3 separate regions of the Homo sapiens genome follow, and regions 1 and 2 are each linked to region 3. Evidence: promoter capture Hi-C in human tissues and cell types (Jung and others, 2019). All regions are on one chromosome and are shown on one strand. The core of a region is centred on a gene start or on the middle of the fragment in contact, and the rest is flanking DNA. Distances in the headings are between cores, read along the strand shown.

The links. Contacts are between HindIII fragments. The study calls those that stand out against the background at their distance.
Region 1: a contact is called between a fragment that was not itself captured here and the fragment with the promoter of CDKL3 in region 3, in 2 of the 25 tissues and cell types used here (dorsolateral prefrontal cortex and spleen).
Region 2: a fragment that was not itself captured here is called in contact with the fragment with the promoter of CDKL3 in region 3 in 1 of the 25 tissues and cell types used here (dorsolateral prefrontal cortex).

Annotation. Positions count from the first base shown.
Region 1 is chr5:134,573,767-134,577,332 of GRCh38, forward strand. It overlaps JADE2 (jade family PHD finger 2), which reads left to right. Exons shown (of 12, transcript NM_001388185.1): 11 at 3,002-3,130. Among named protein-coding and RNA genes, the nearest start is that of JADE2, 50 kb to the left of the region's middle. The HindIII fragment of the contact is 9,141 bases long and covers 1-3,566 here.
Region 2 is chr5:134,617,541-134,620,807 of GRCh38, forward strand. The region is part of intron 3 of SAR1B (secretion associated Ras related GTPase 1B); the gene reads right to left. Among named protein-coding and RNA genes, the nearest start is that of SAR1B, 14 kb to the right of the region's middle. The HindIII fragment of the contact is 7,270 bases long and covers 1-3,267 here.
Region 3 is chr5:134,365,907-134,369,493 of GRCh38, forward strand. CDKL3 (cyclin dependent kinase like 3) reads right to left here and starts at 1,265. Exons shown (of 13, transcript NM_001113575.2): 1 at 1,071-1,265; 2 at 453-638. The coding sequence starts at 617. The HindIII fragment of the contact is 10,082 bases long and covers 1-3,587 here.

The DNA.
Region 1 (3,566 bases), core at 1-2,500, 210 kb after region 3:
GCGCCTTCCCCACCTGCCGCCGCCACCTCCCTGTGCCCTCTCTTGCGGGGCTGGGTCCCAAGGAGGGTGTGTCTTTGGATCCTGGTGGGGGTATGTGCGTGGAGCCAAGGGCCACTGGCCCCCACTCCTACCCTTCACCATCCAATTAGTAGGCCCAGACGGGGGCCTGCAAGGGTCCTGAGTTGTGCGTCACTAGGCAGAGAGCCAGAGGTTGGAATGTGGGCATCAGGCCTGCCCTCAGGGAGCTTTCTGGTTGACTAGGCCACAGCAGTTCAGGAGCTGATTGCATGTGAACAGGTACAGAGAAGAAGTCCTAGTGGCTCTCTGCTGGTGCTGAGGCAGGAAGGGCCAGAAGCTGGTGAGCTTCCCTGAACCCTGGTGTGCCTGGGAGTCAGTTCCGAAGAAGGCAGCTGTCCCAGAGATGTGACAGGACCTGGCTGTTGTTTCTCTCTGACCCTAACAGGATTTATGCCCTGCATCCGCGGTGTTTTTCACTGTTTCATTCTTATTATTCTTATTCTCTTGGCGTCACATGCGTTTAGTGGATCTGGAAATCAAAGGCTGAAGGAAGCGCTGACATTGATCGTATCTGTTAATTGTGGATATTGCCAGACACAGGGCCCTTCTTGGAGCGTATACATGTTAAGAAGGGCAACACTTAGCCCCCAAAACAGTACCCCAGTGTTGCGTTTACATGCAGCAGAAATAGCTGGATGGAGAGAGATTTTGAGCCAGGGTCTGCCAATGCCACTTCAGCCTCAGGGCTGAGCTGGGCCTGGAGAGGAAAGCTGCTGAGCCACCGTTGGAGCAAATGACTGAGGACCTCTGCTGCCCCTACTTCTGCCCCAGAGCTGAGCTGACCTGATTGTGCTTTGGCATCACCACCCACTCTGGCCCCAACATCTAGCCTTGCCAAGTTCAGGTGCTAGTCATGACCATGTAGAGCTCACCGTGTACCCAAAGACTGTGGCAGCTTCCTGGCTGCTGGAGCTTTCCAGGCCCCCTATCTTCTGTTTATTCACTCAGCCAGCATTAACTGAGCATGGACTGGATAGGGTTGCTGCCCTTGTGGAATGCACCATCTGGAGAGAGAGAGGAATGTGGTATCGCAGACGCTACAGTTGCTGCCAGTTTAGGGATAGAAGTATCAGGGATGTCTTCCCAGAAGCAGTGATGCTCCAACAACATCTCAGGCACTTGGCTGTGGCCACATATCGGCTGCAGAAGGAGAAGCCCATGCAAGGCACCCACAGTTGAGGAAGCAGAGGGTGGCAAGCCACGAGCAGTGCCCTCAGGCACAGGATTCCAGAAGCATGGGCAAGAGCCTGGAGGGTCCACATCCCCACATTGGTTCTGGGGACATTTGCAACTCCTTGTCTTGAGTGTCAACAACAGGCAGCTCTTTGTTCAGGGCAGGGCAGGGTATTTGGAGATGACTGGTTTGCCCTGTCCAAAGCTGCTGCTCACACTGTTGAGAGGCTTGACGCCTGGGGTGGGACATGGGCTGTGTGCATATCGGCGAGGCTGTCTGGCCTGGCGGCTGGACAAAGCCTCCTAGTGGAGATGATATTTGGCCTGTGAACTGAATCAGGTGAAGGATAGGAGAAGAAAACAGCATATTTGGAGACTTAGTGGCCAGAGCATGTCTTGGCAGAGAAACTGGAAGGAGGCTGGAATGGCTGCACCAGGCAGAAGGAAGACTCCTAAAGTGGGGATGACGGGTAACCTGGGTCACATGTGCGAGATCTTCTTGTAGCCTGGGGGAGGAGCTTACACTGTCCTGAGAGCAGTGGGGAGCCTCAGGAGCCTGCCTCCAGAGTATCTAGGCATTAGTTACATGCCATGTTACAGATGAGATTGCCCAGGCACAGTGGCTCATGCCTAAAATCCCAGCACTTTGGGAGACCACAGTGGGAAGATCACTTGAAGCCAGGAGTTCCAGACCAGCCTGTCTCTACAAAAAAAAAAAAATACAAAAATTAGCTGAGCATGGTGACACATGCCTGTATTCCTAGCTGCTTGGGGAGCAGAAGTAGGATTGCTTGAGCCCAGTAGTTTGAGGCTGCAAGCGAGCTATGATTACACCACTGTACTCCAGCCTGGGTAACAGAGCCAGGCTCTGTCTCTAAAAAATAAATAAATAAACAGATGTGGCCAGGCACAGTGGCTCGCACCTGTAATCCCAGCACTTTGGGAGGCCAAGGTGGAAGGATTACTGGAGCCCAAGAGTTCAAGACCAGTCTGGGCAAAATAGCAAGACCCTGTCTCTACAAAATTTGAAAATTAGCCGGGTGTGGTGGCATGCACCTGTGGTCCCAGCTACTCAGGAGGCTGAGGCTGGAGGATCGCTTGAGCCTGGGAGGTCAAGGCTGCAGTAAACTATGATTGTACTACTGCGCTCCATCATGGGCAACAGAGCAAGACTCTCTCTCAAAACAAACCAAAACAGATGAGACTGAGGCCTGGCCTGAACTGAAAGGATACAAGGGCCAGGGGTGCACCCTGAATCTCCCATCTAGTTTGCTGCCTGACTTTGAAAGCCAACCAAGAGACCATGGCAGGAGACTGGTTCAGGGTTGCTGACCCTGGGGTTAGGAATGGAACCCAAGCCTCTTGACCCCTCAGGTAGTGTTCCTTCCACCTACATGTCTAGCTCCTCAGCCTGGCATTCAAGGCCCTGCCCTGTCCAGACTCCCTTCCAGCCATTCTTCCCACCACCCACACTCTCTCCCAAGACTACAGGTTGTGCAGGTCAGACTGGAGTCCAGGTCCTGCGAGGGCCTCTCCTCGTGGCCCTGTGGCCACCCCAAGTCCCCCACAGGCCACAGTGGACAGTTGGTCCACCCCACCATGCCAGCCATCCCCTAACTCCAACCTTTTTGCTGTGGAGGGTGAGCACTGGCTGATGGAGGACTCCTGGGCTGCCACGCAGGGATCTTGGTGCTGACCGAGGCCACTCAGGGTAACCATCTCCCTCCTCCTCTCACTTTCCCTGACACAGAGCGGTCTGGGAGGAGAGCAAAGGGCAAGAAGAGTGACTCGAAGAGGAAGGGCTGCGAGGGCTCCAAGGGCAGCACTGAGAAGAAAGAGAAAGTGAAGGCGGGGCCTGACTCAGTCCTGGGGCAGCTGGGTGAGTGAGGGCCATGCTGGCCTGCAGACACGGCAGGCTTGACCATCACCACGCTTGCAGCTCTGTCTGCCCTGCGGAAGGCCAGCTGCACAGAGTAGGAGACTGAGGCTCAAGAGCGGTAACCAGGCCCTTGCTTGCCCAGGTGCACACACCTTCCACCCACAAAGGAGACAGATCTCAGAGCCCCGTGTGACATCCTGGGAAATGCCCCGTCTGTAGACCTGGATGGAGGCTGGGCCACGCCCACTCAGGAACTGTCCAGTCATTCCCCTGGCTGGGGGGTCCTGGGTGCTGGATTTTCCCAGAGGCCCCTGGGACAGCCCCATGCTGGGAGGGGAGGATCTGCCAGAAAGCCCCATCCTTGTCCTACTCTCCCAGAATCCTCTAAGTGGGCCCTTCCTGCAACAGCAGCAGACTCTCCTGGAGCTGCCCAGAG
Region 2 (3,267 bases), core at 496-2,995, 250 kb after region 3:
GACATAAAGTAGGTGCTCAATAAATATTTGAATAAATGAAATAGAGCAACGTCAAAAAATTAAAAAATGACTTACACCTAATATTTAAGACCACTCTGTAGTCTCTTCCAGTTATGCTGGTTTTTGTTGGGTTTTTTTTCTGTGTTTTTTGTTTTTTTCGAGACAGAGTCTCCCTCTGTCGCCCAGGCTGGAATGCAGTGGCGCCATCTTGGCTCACTGCAACCTCCGCCTCCCGGGTTCAAGCAATTCTCCTGTCTCTGCCTCCCGAGTAGGTGGAATTACAGGCACGTGCCACCGTGTCCGGCTAATTTTTGTATTTTTAGTACAGAACGGGTTTCACGATGTTGGCCAGGTTGGAAATTACGCTGTTTTTGCAGACAATTTTATCTACTCAATTTCACCATGATCATTTTTTCTTTAACAGAATTGTTCTTATATCAGAATCTTACTTGCCAAGCCCCACTTTTTTCTCCTAATATAAAAAAAAGATTTGTTGGCCGGGCGCAGTGGCTGACGCCTGTAATCCCAGCACTTTGGGAGGCCGAAGCGGGCAGATCACGAGGTCAGGAGATCGAGACCATCCTGGCTAACACAGTGAAACCCTGTCTCTACTAAAAATACAAAAAATTAGCCAGGCGTGGTGGCGGGCACCTGTAGTTCCAGCTACTCGGGAAGCTGAGGCAGGAGAATGGTGTGAACTTGGGAGGCGGAGGTTGCAGTGAGTCGAGATCGTGCCACTGCACTCCAGCCTGGGTGACAGAGCGAGACTCCATCTCAAAAAAAATAAAAAGAAAAAAAAGATTTGTCAATTTCCTTTTCCAACCTCACTAATTGTTTTATAGATAAAATACTTTGTTTTGTTCTATCCTCATTCTTTGTTCTTTGAACATTTACTGGACTAAATAATTACAGTATTATCTACTTTTTGGTCCAGTTCTCAATTTTATATTCATTATTAAGGCTACACTTACTATTTCATAATTAATCTATAGATTAACTTGTCTTTAAACTCTGTGTCTATCTGATTCATAAAATTTTCACCTGTAAAAGTAAGGTCACAGGTTAAATTAGGTTTCTGTTTCTAATAATTTACCCACTTTAACATTAACTTTATTCTCAAATTCGTTACATAACCTTAAATGCAAAATAAAATTTATTAAATAATTTACAGAGTCAGCCAAGTGTGGTGGCTCACGCCTGTAATCCCAACACTTTGGGAGGCCAAGGCAGGTGGATCACTTGTGGCCAGGAGTTCGAGACCAGCCTGGCCAACATGGCGAAACCTGGTCTCTACTAAAAATACAAAAATTAGCTGGGCTTGGTAGCACATGCCTGTAATCCCAGCTATTCCAGTGGCTGAGGCAGGAGAATTGCTTGAGCCCAGGAGGCAGAGGTTGCAGGGAGCCGAGATGGTGCCACTGCACTTCAGCCTAGGCAACAGAGTGAGACTCTGTCTCAAAAAAGGAAAAAAAAAAAATTAGAGTCATTATTAAAAAACATTATTTTTGGCCAAGTGTGGTGGCTCATGCCTGTAATCCCAGCACTTTGGGAGACTGAGGTGGGCGGATCATCTGAGGTCGGGAGTTTGAGACCAGCCTGGCCAACATGTTGAAACCCCGTCTCTACTAAAAATACAAAACATTAGCTGGGTGTGGTAGCACATGCCTGTAATCTGAGCTACTTGGGAGGCTGAGGCAGGAGAATTGCTTGAACTCAGAAGGCAGAGGTTGCAGTGAGCCGAGATCGTGCCATTGCTCTCCAGCGTGGGCAACAGAGCAAGACTCCATCTCAAAAAAAAAAAAACTTTCAATTTTTTTGGTATTTTTTGTTTCTTTAGAGACAGGGTCTCACTCTGTTGCCCAGGTTAGGAGTGCAGTGGTGCAATCATAGCTCAGTGAAGCCTTGAACACCTAGGGTCAAGTGATCCTCCTGCCTCAGCCTCCCAAGTACCTAGGACTACAGGTGTATGCCACCATGCCAGACTAATTTTTTGTTTTTGTTTTTGTAGAGATGGAGTCTCAGTATGTTGCCCAGGCTGGTCTTAAACTCCTGGGCTCAAGTGATTCTCCTGCCTCAGCCTCCCAAAGTGCTGGGATTACAGACATGAGCCACCACACCCACCCTTGTTTTAAAACTTCCTGTGTGTCAATATATGCCTTGTTTTCTTTAGATTAATTCTGTGGTGTACATTAGATATTGTTGAGGTTATTAAGACTAGAAAAATAACTGGTTAACAAATTGAGTTACCAGCCATGTATAAAATTGTAATGTATCTACTGAATTAGTGCTTAAAATAGTACATGGTGCAATGGCTCCTATCTTTAATCCCAACACTTTGGGAGGCAGAGGCAGGAGGATCACTTGCACCTGGGAGTTTAAATGGTGCGCTATGATCATACCACGGCACTCCAACCTACATGACAGAGCAAGACCCTGTCTCTACACAAATAAAATAAAGTAATATGGCTTTAAAATCTGAAAGAAGCCTGGGCGCGGTGGCTCACACCTGTAATCCCAGCACTTTGGGAGGCCGAGGAAGGCGGATCACAAGGTCAGGAGATCAAGACCATCCTGGCTAACACGGAGAAACCCCGTCTCTACCGAAAATACAAAAAATTAGCCGGGCGTGGTGGTGGGTGCCTGTAGTCCCAGCTACTCGGGAGGCTGAGGCAGGAGAATGGCGTGAACCCGGGAGGTGGAGCTTACAGTGAGCGGAGGTCGTGCCACTGCACTCCAGCCTGGGCGACAGAGTGAGACTCCACCTCAAAAAAAAAAAAATCTGAAAGAAAAAATTCAGGTTATGTAAACAAGGCGATGGTGGACTATTTACCAATCATGTCACAATCCCTCAGACAAAAACTTTTTAATTCCTCAAGCTAGAGAAGGGAGTACTAGCTGATAAAAAGGTATGAGTACTAATTCAAGATCTAAATATTCTCCCTGGGAGCGAGGTCACCTATAATTTATTATTTTAGGAACAGGTCAAATCACCTGATCATAATTTATCTACCAGAAAATGCCCCCCAAACAAAAAACTTGGCCAGGTGCAGTGGCTCACGCCTGTAATCCCAATACTTTCGGAGGCTGAGAGAGGCTGATCACTTGAGCTCAGGAGTTCAAGACCACCCTGGGAAACATATCGAAACCTGGTCTCTGAAAAAATATAAAAATTAACTGGGCATGGTGGCACATGCCTGTGGTCCCAGCTACTTGGGAGACGGGAGGATGGCTTAAGCCCAGGAGACAGAGGTTGCAGTGAACTGTGAT
Region 3 (3,587 bases), core at 15-2,514:
CCATTTCCTCAAAAAAACTTTCCCTACCAGGGAAAGGACTTTGTGTTGATTCCTTGGCATTTATTATGAGCCACTTTTTATTCAGTATGATTTTCATATACTCTCCTTTCTGATTAAATTATAGAAGTCTTTAAGGGCAGGAACTATCTTTTACCTCCTTATAGTCTCAGTACCTAGCACCATGCCTTGCACATAGCAGAAATTTTTATTAAGTATTATACTTGAATATTTCTGAATAATTATTAAACAATATTGGTGTAGCTTTTGTTACATACCCCAAAACACATATATCTTGTATCACTATAAAATTACAAAATGTAGATAAGATAGAGTATTACACTTGTTTCTCCATAATATGAATCAGTACGTGTGAACTAAAATATTTTATGCAATTTTTTATTCCATAACAATTTTTTCTTTTGACTTAGATGATTAAGGCAAAAGAAGCAAACCTTTAGAAACTTTATTTCTCTCATCGCAATTTTGTTGACAGATTGTTCTGGTCTCTCATAAAATATCTTAATGGCCACTATCTGCCCAGTATTCTTATGTTTACATTTCATGACTGTTCCGTAACTTCCCTCTCCCACTTTTCCAAGGGTTTCATACATCTCCATTTTCAAGCTGGGCTTTTACTACTTTATAGAAATAAAGAAAGAAAATGGAAAATGTTAAACGTTTATACTTTTATTTATTAAAACTAGATAATGCATATCCACAATAAACCCACAGTCTCAAATATAGAGACATTAAAAAAAAAAAAGGAATCTTTTCCACTGAGCCTTTTTGTCTTTGGGAACTAAAGACAGCTTGAGTAAGGTGTCCTTCTGAGGCTCCACCTCTCACCAGAACTTAGGGGTACTCCTGCTGTCTCGGTCATGCCCATCAACACTGAGACTACCACACTATAAGTCACCATCCATCAAGCATGGGGTCCCTACACTTCCTGTCATGTTCCTGTCAAATAATAGGTTCCCGCACTACTGCAGTCGCCCACTTATCAGGCCCAAGGTCCTAAAAAAAGCCTGGTCTCGCCCGCAACTCAAACCACACGTCTTAGGATGCCGGACCGGCGTCACGCCCCACGTCCCGCTGTTGACTTTATCCAAACAGCCGCCGCCGCCTCAGCCCATTCTGTGGTCCCGCTGGTCTGGCTCTGCGTAGTTCCAGTGGAGCCACCGAACACTGATACTACTTTGTTGCTCAGCCCCGCAAGGAACCGGCCACTTGCCACCATGGAAACGCCGGCGGAGTTGCTGCGTTCTAGACTCGTGCGCAAGACCGGAACATGGGCAGGGTCCCGACCCGGAAGGGGAAGTGGGAAGAAACGGAAACCTACTCTGGGTAGGCGCAAGGTGGAAGAGTGCTGTGCTTGGGAATGGGGGAGGGGAGTACAGATTGCTGTCGCAGCTGAGCCTCCTCACAAGGTTGCTTTTGAATGTGGATAGGAAGGATCTGCATCTTTTTTTTTTTTTTTTTTTTTTTTGAGATAGTCTAGCTCTGTCGCCCAGGCTGGACTGCAGTGTCGCTGATCTTGGCTCACTGCAACCTCCTCCTTCCAGGTTTAAGTGATTTTCCTGCCTCAGCCTCCCGAGTAGCTGGGATTACAGGCGTGTGCCACCACGCCCGGATAATTTTGTATTTTTAGTAGAGACGGGGTTTCTACCATGTTGGCCAGGCTGGTCTCGAACTCCCAACATCAGGTGATCCGCCTGCCTCGGCCTCCCAAAGTGCTGGGATTACAGGCGTAAGCCACCGCCCCCGGTCAAGATGGTTCTTAAATCAAAAACTTTTCTTGAACACTTGCCATATGCCTTTTAATTTTTTCCAACTGCTAGTAATCTTTTTTAAAGAAAAAAAACCTCCCTCACCACATGTCAAACTCTAGGAAAGCAAGTAATTCGAAGAGTTCCACCATATACGAAATGATGTACAAGAGCACGGAAATAAAGAGGCCAGTGTCTAACTGCTTAAGTAGACATAGAGTTCAACTGGAATGACAGTCCCTAATGAATAACCACCATATCACTAGACCAAGTGCCTAGGGAGTGCTTTCTTTATTGAATAGGGCTTTCTTTGCTTTCTTCTATAAAATGAGTTAAATGTAAAAAAGCGAAATCTCGCTATGCTTCCGCTAAATAAGAGGAAAGGCATTATTTAATAAATCTAGTCTGGTGGGTCCCACCCAGCATGCATATTTAAATCACACCTGGAGAGCTTTTAGAAAGCATCCCAACCCCCACCTCCACACCCCTGCCCCAATGCCAGAGCACCTGATTTAATTGGGATAGCGTAAATAAATTAGTATTTTTGAAGCTTCTCAAGTTTTTTCTATGCTGCTAGGGTTTATATTGAGAGAAAGGAGAAGTGGTCATCGTTTTCATTGATCACCTAAAATATTCAGAATTGTCTTTTCTTTGAAGGTTATTCAGACGGGCGCAGTGGCTAACGCCTGTAATCCCAGCACTTTGGGAGGCCCAGGCGGGCGGATCACGAGGTCAGGAGATCGAGACCATCCTGGCTAACACGGTGAAACCCCATTTCTACTAAAAAATAGAAAAAATTAGCTGGGCGTGGTGGCGGGCGCCTGTAGTCCCAGCTACTCGGGAGGCGGAGGCAGGAGAATGGCGTGAATCCGGGAGGCGGAGCTTGCAGTGAGCGGAGATCGCACCACTACATTCCAGCCTGGGTGGCAGAGCGAGACTCCATCTCAAAAAAAAAAAAAAAAAAAAAAAGAAAGTTATTCAACCACAATATAAAATACCTTCTATAAATAAGAATGTCATAGTAAATCTTATAGTGGGCTCAAACTTGGTGTAAGCATATTATTTGTTGTGGGCTAAATATTTGCAAGGAGGCTGCGCACAGTGGCTCACACCTGTAATCCCAGGGAGGCCAAGGTGGGCAGATCACTTGAGCCCAGGAGTTCCAGACCAGCCTGGGCAAGAGGGCAAAACTCCATCTCTACAAAAAATTAGCCGGGCATGGTGGTGCACACCTGTGGTCCCAGCTACTTGGGCGTCTGAAGGAGAATTACTGGAGCCCAGAAGGTCAAGGCTGCAGTGAGCCCTGTTCACACCACTGCACTCCAACCTGGGTGACAGAGCAAAACTCTGTCTCAAAAAATAAAAAAATTTGCCCAGGACAAAGATGAACCAAACTGAGTCCCTGCCCTCAATGAACTCATAATCCAGAGCTACAGAACTGATAACAGCATACAGTTAATAGCTTTAAAATTATTCCTTCTACAAGTAGGTTATGGCAGGCCTGGTTAACAAGGACAGCCAGTGATTCTTGCTAATACACAGCTGTAAGACTTTATGATGCACATTCACTGAATCAGTTAAAAGTGTTATATCATTTTGGAAAATAATAAACTGTTTCCAAAACAATTATAAATCCCTGTAGTCTCTGAATTCCTTACCTCTATTGCCTCCAGTTCCCATCTTCAGGACTTCGTTGGTGGGTCAGGAGGACTCTGAGCACTTTTGTATCCATTCGTCAGCTCAACAGGGAAAGAGGGGGTAGGAGGAGGACCTCAGCATTGCCCTAATCTTGCCCATAGTTCCATGGAACCAGAAAGGGTT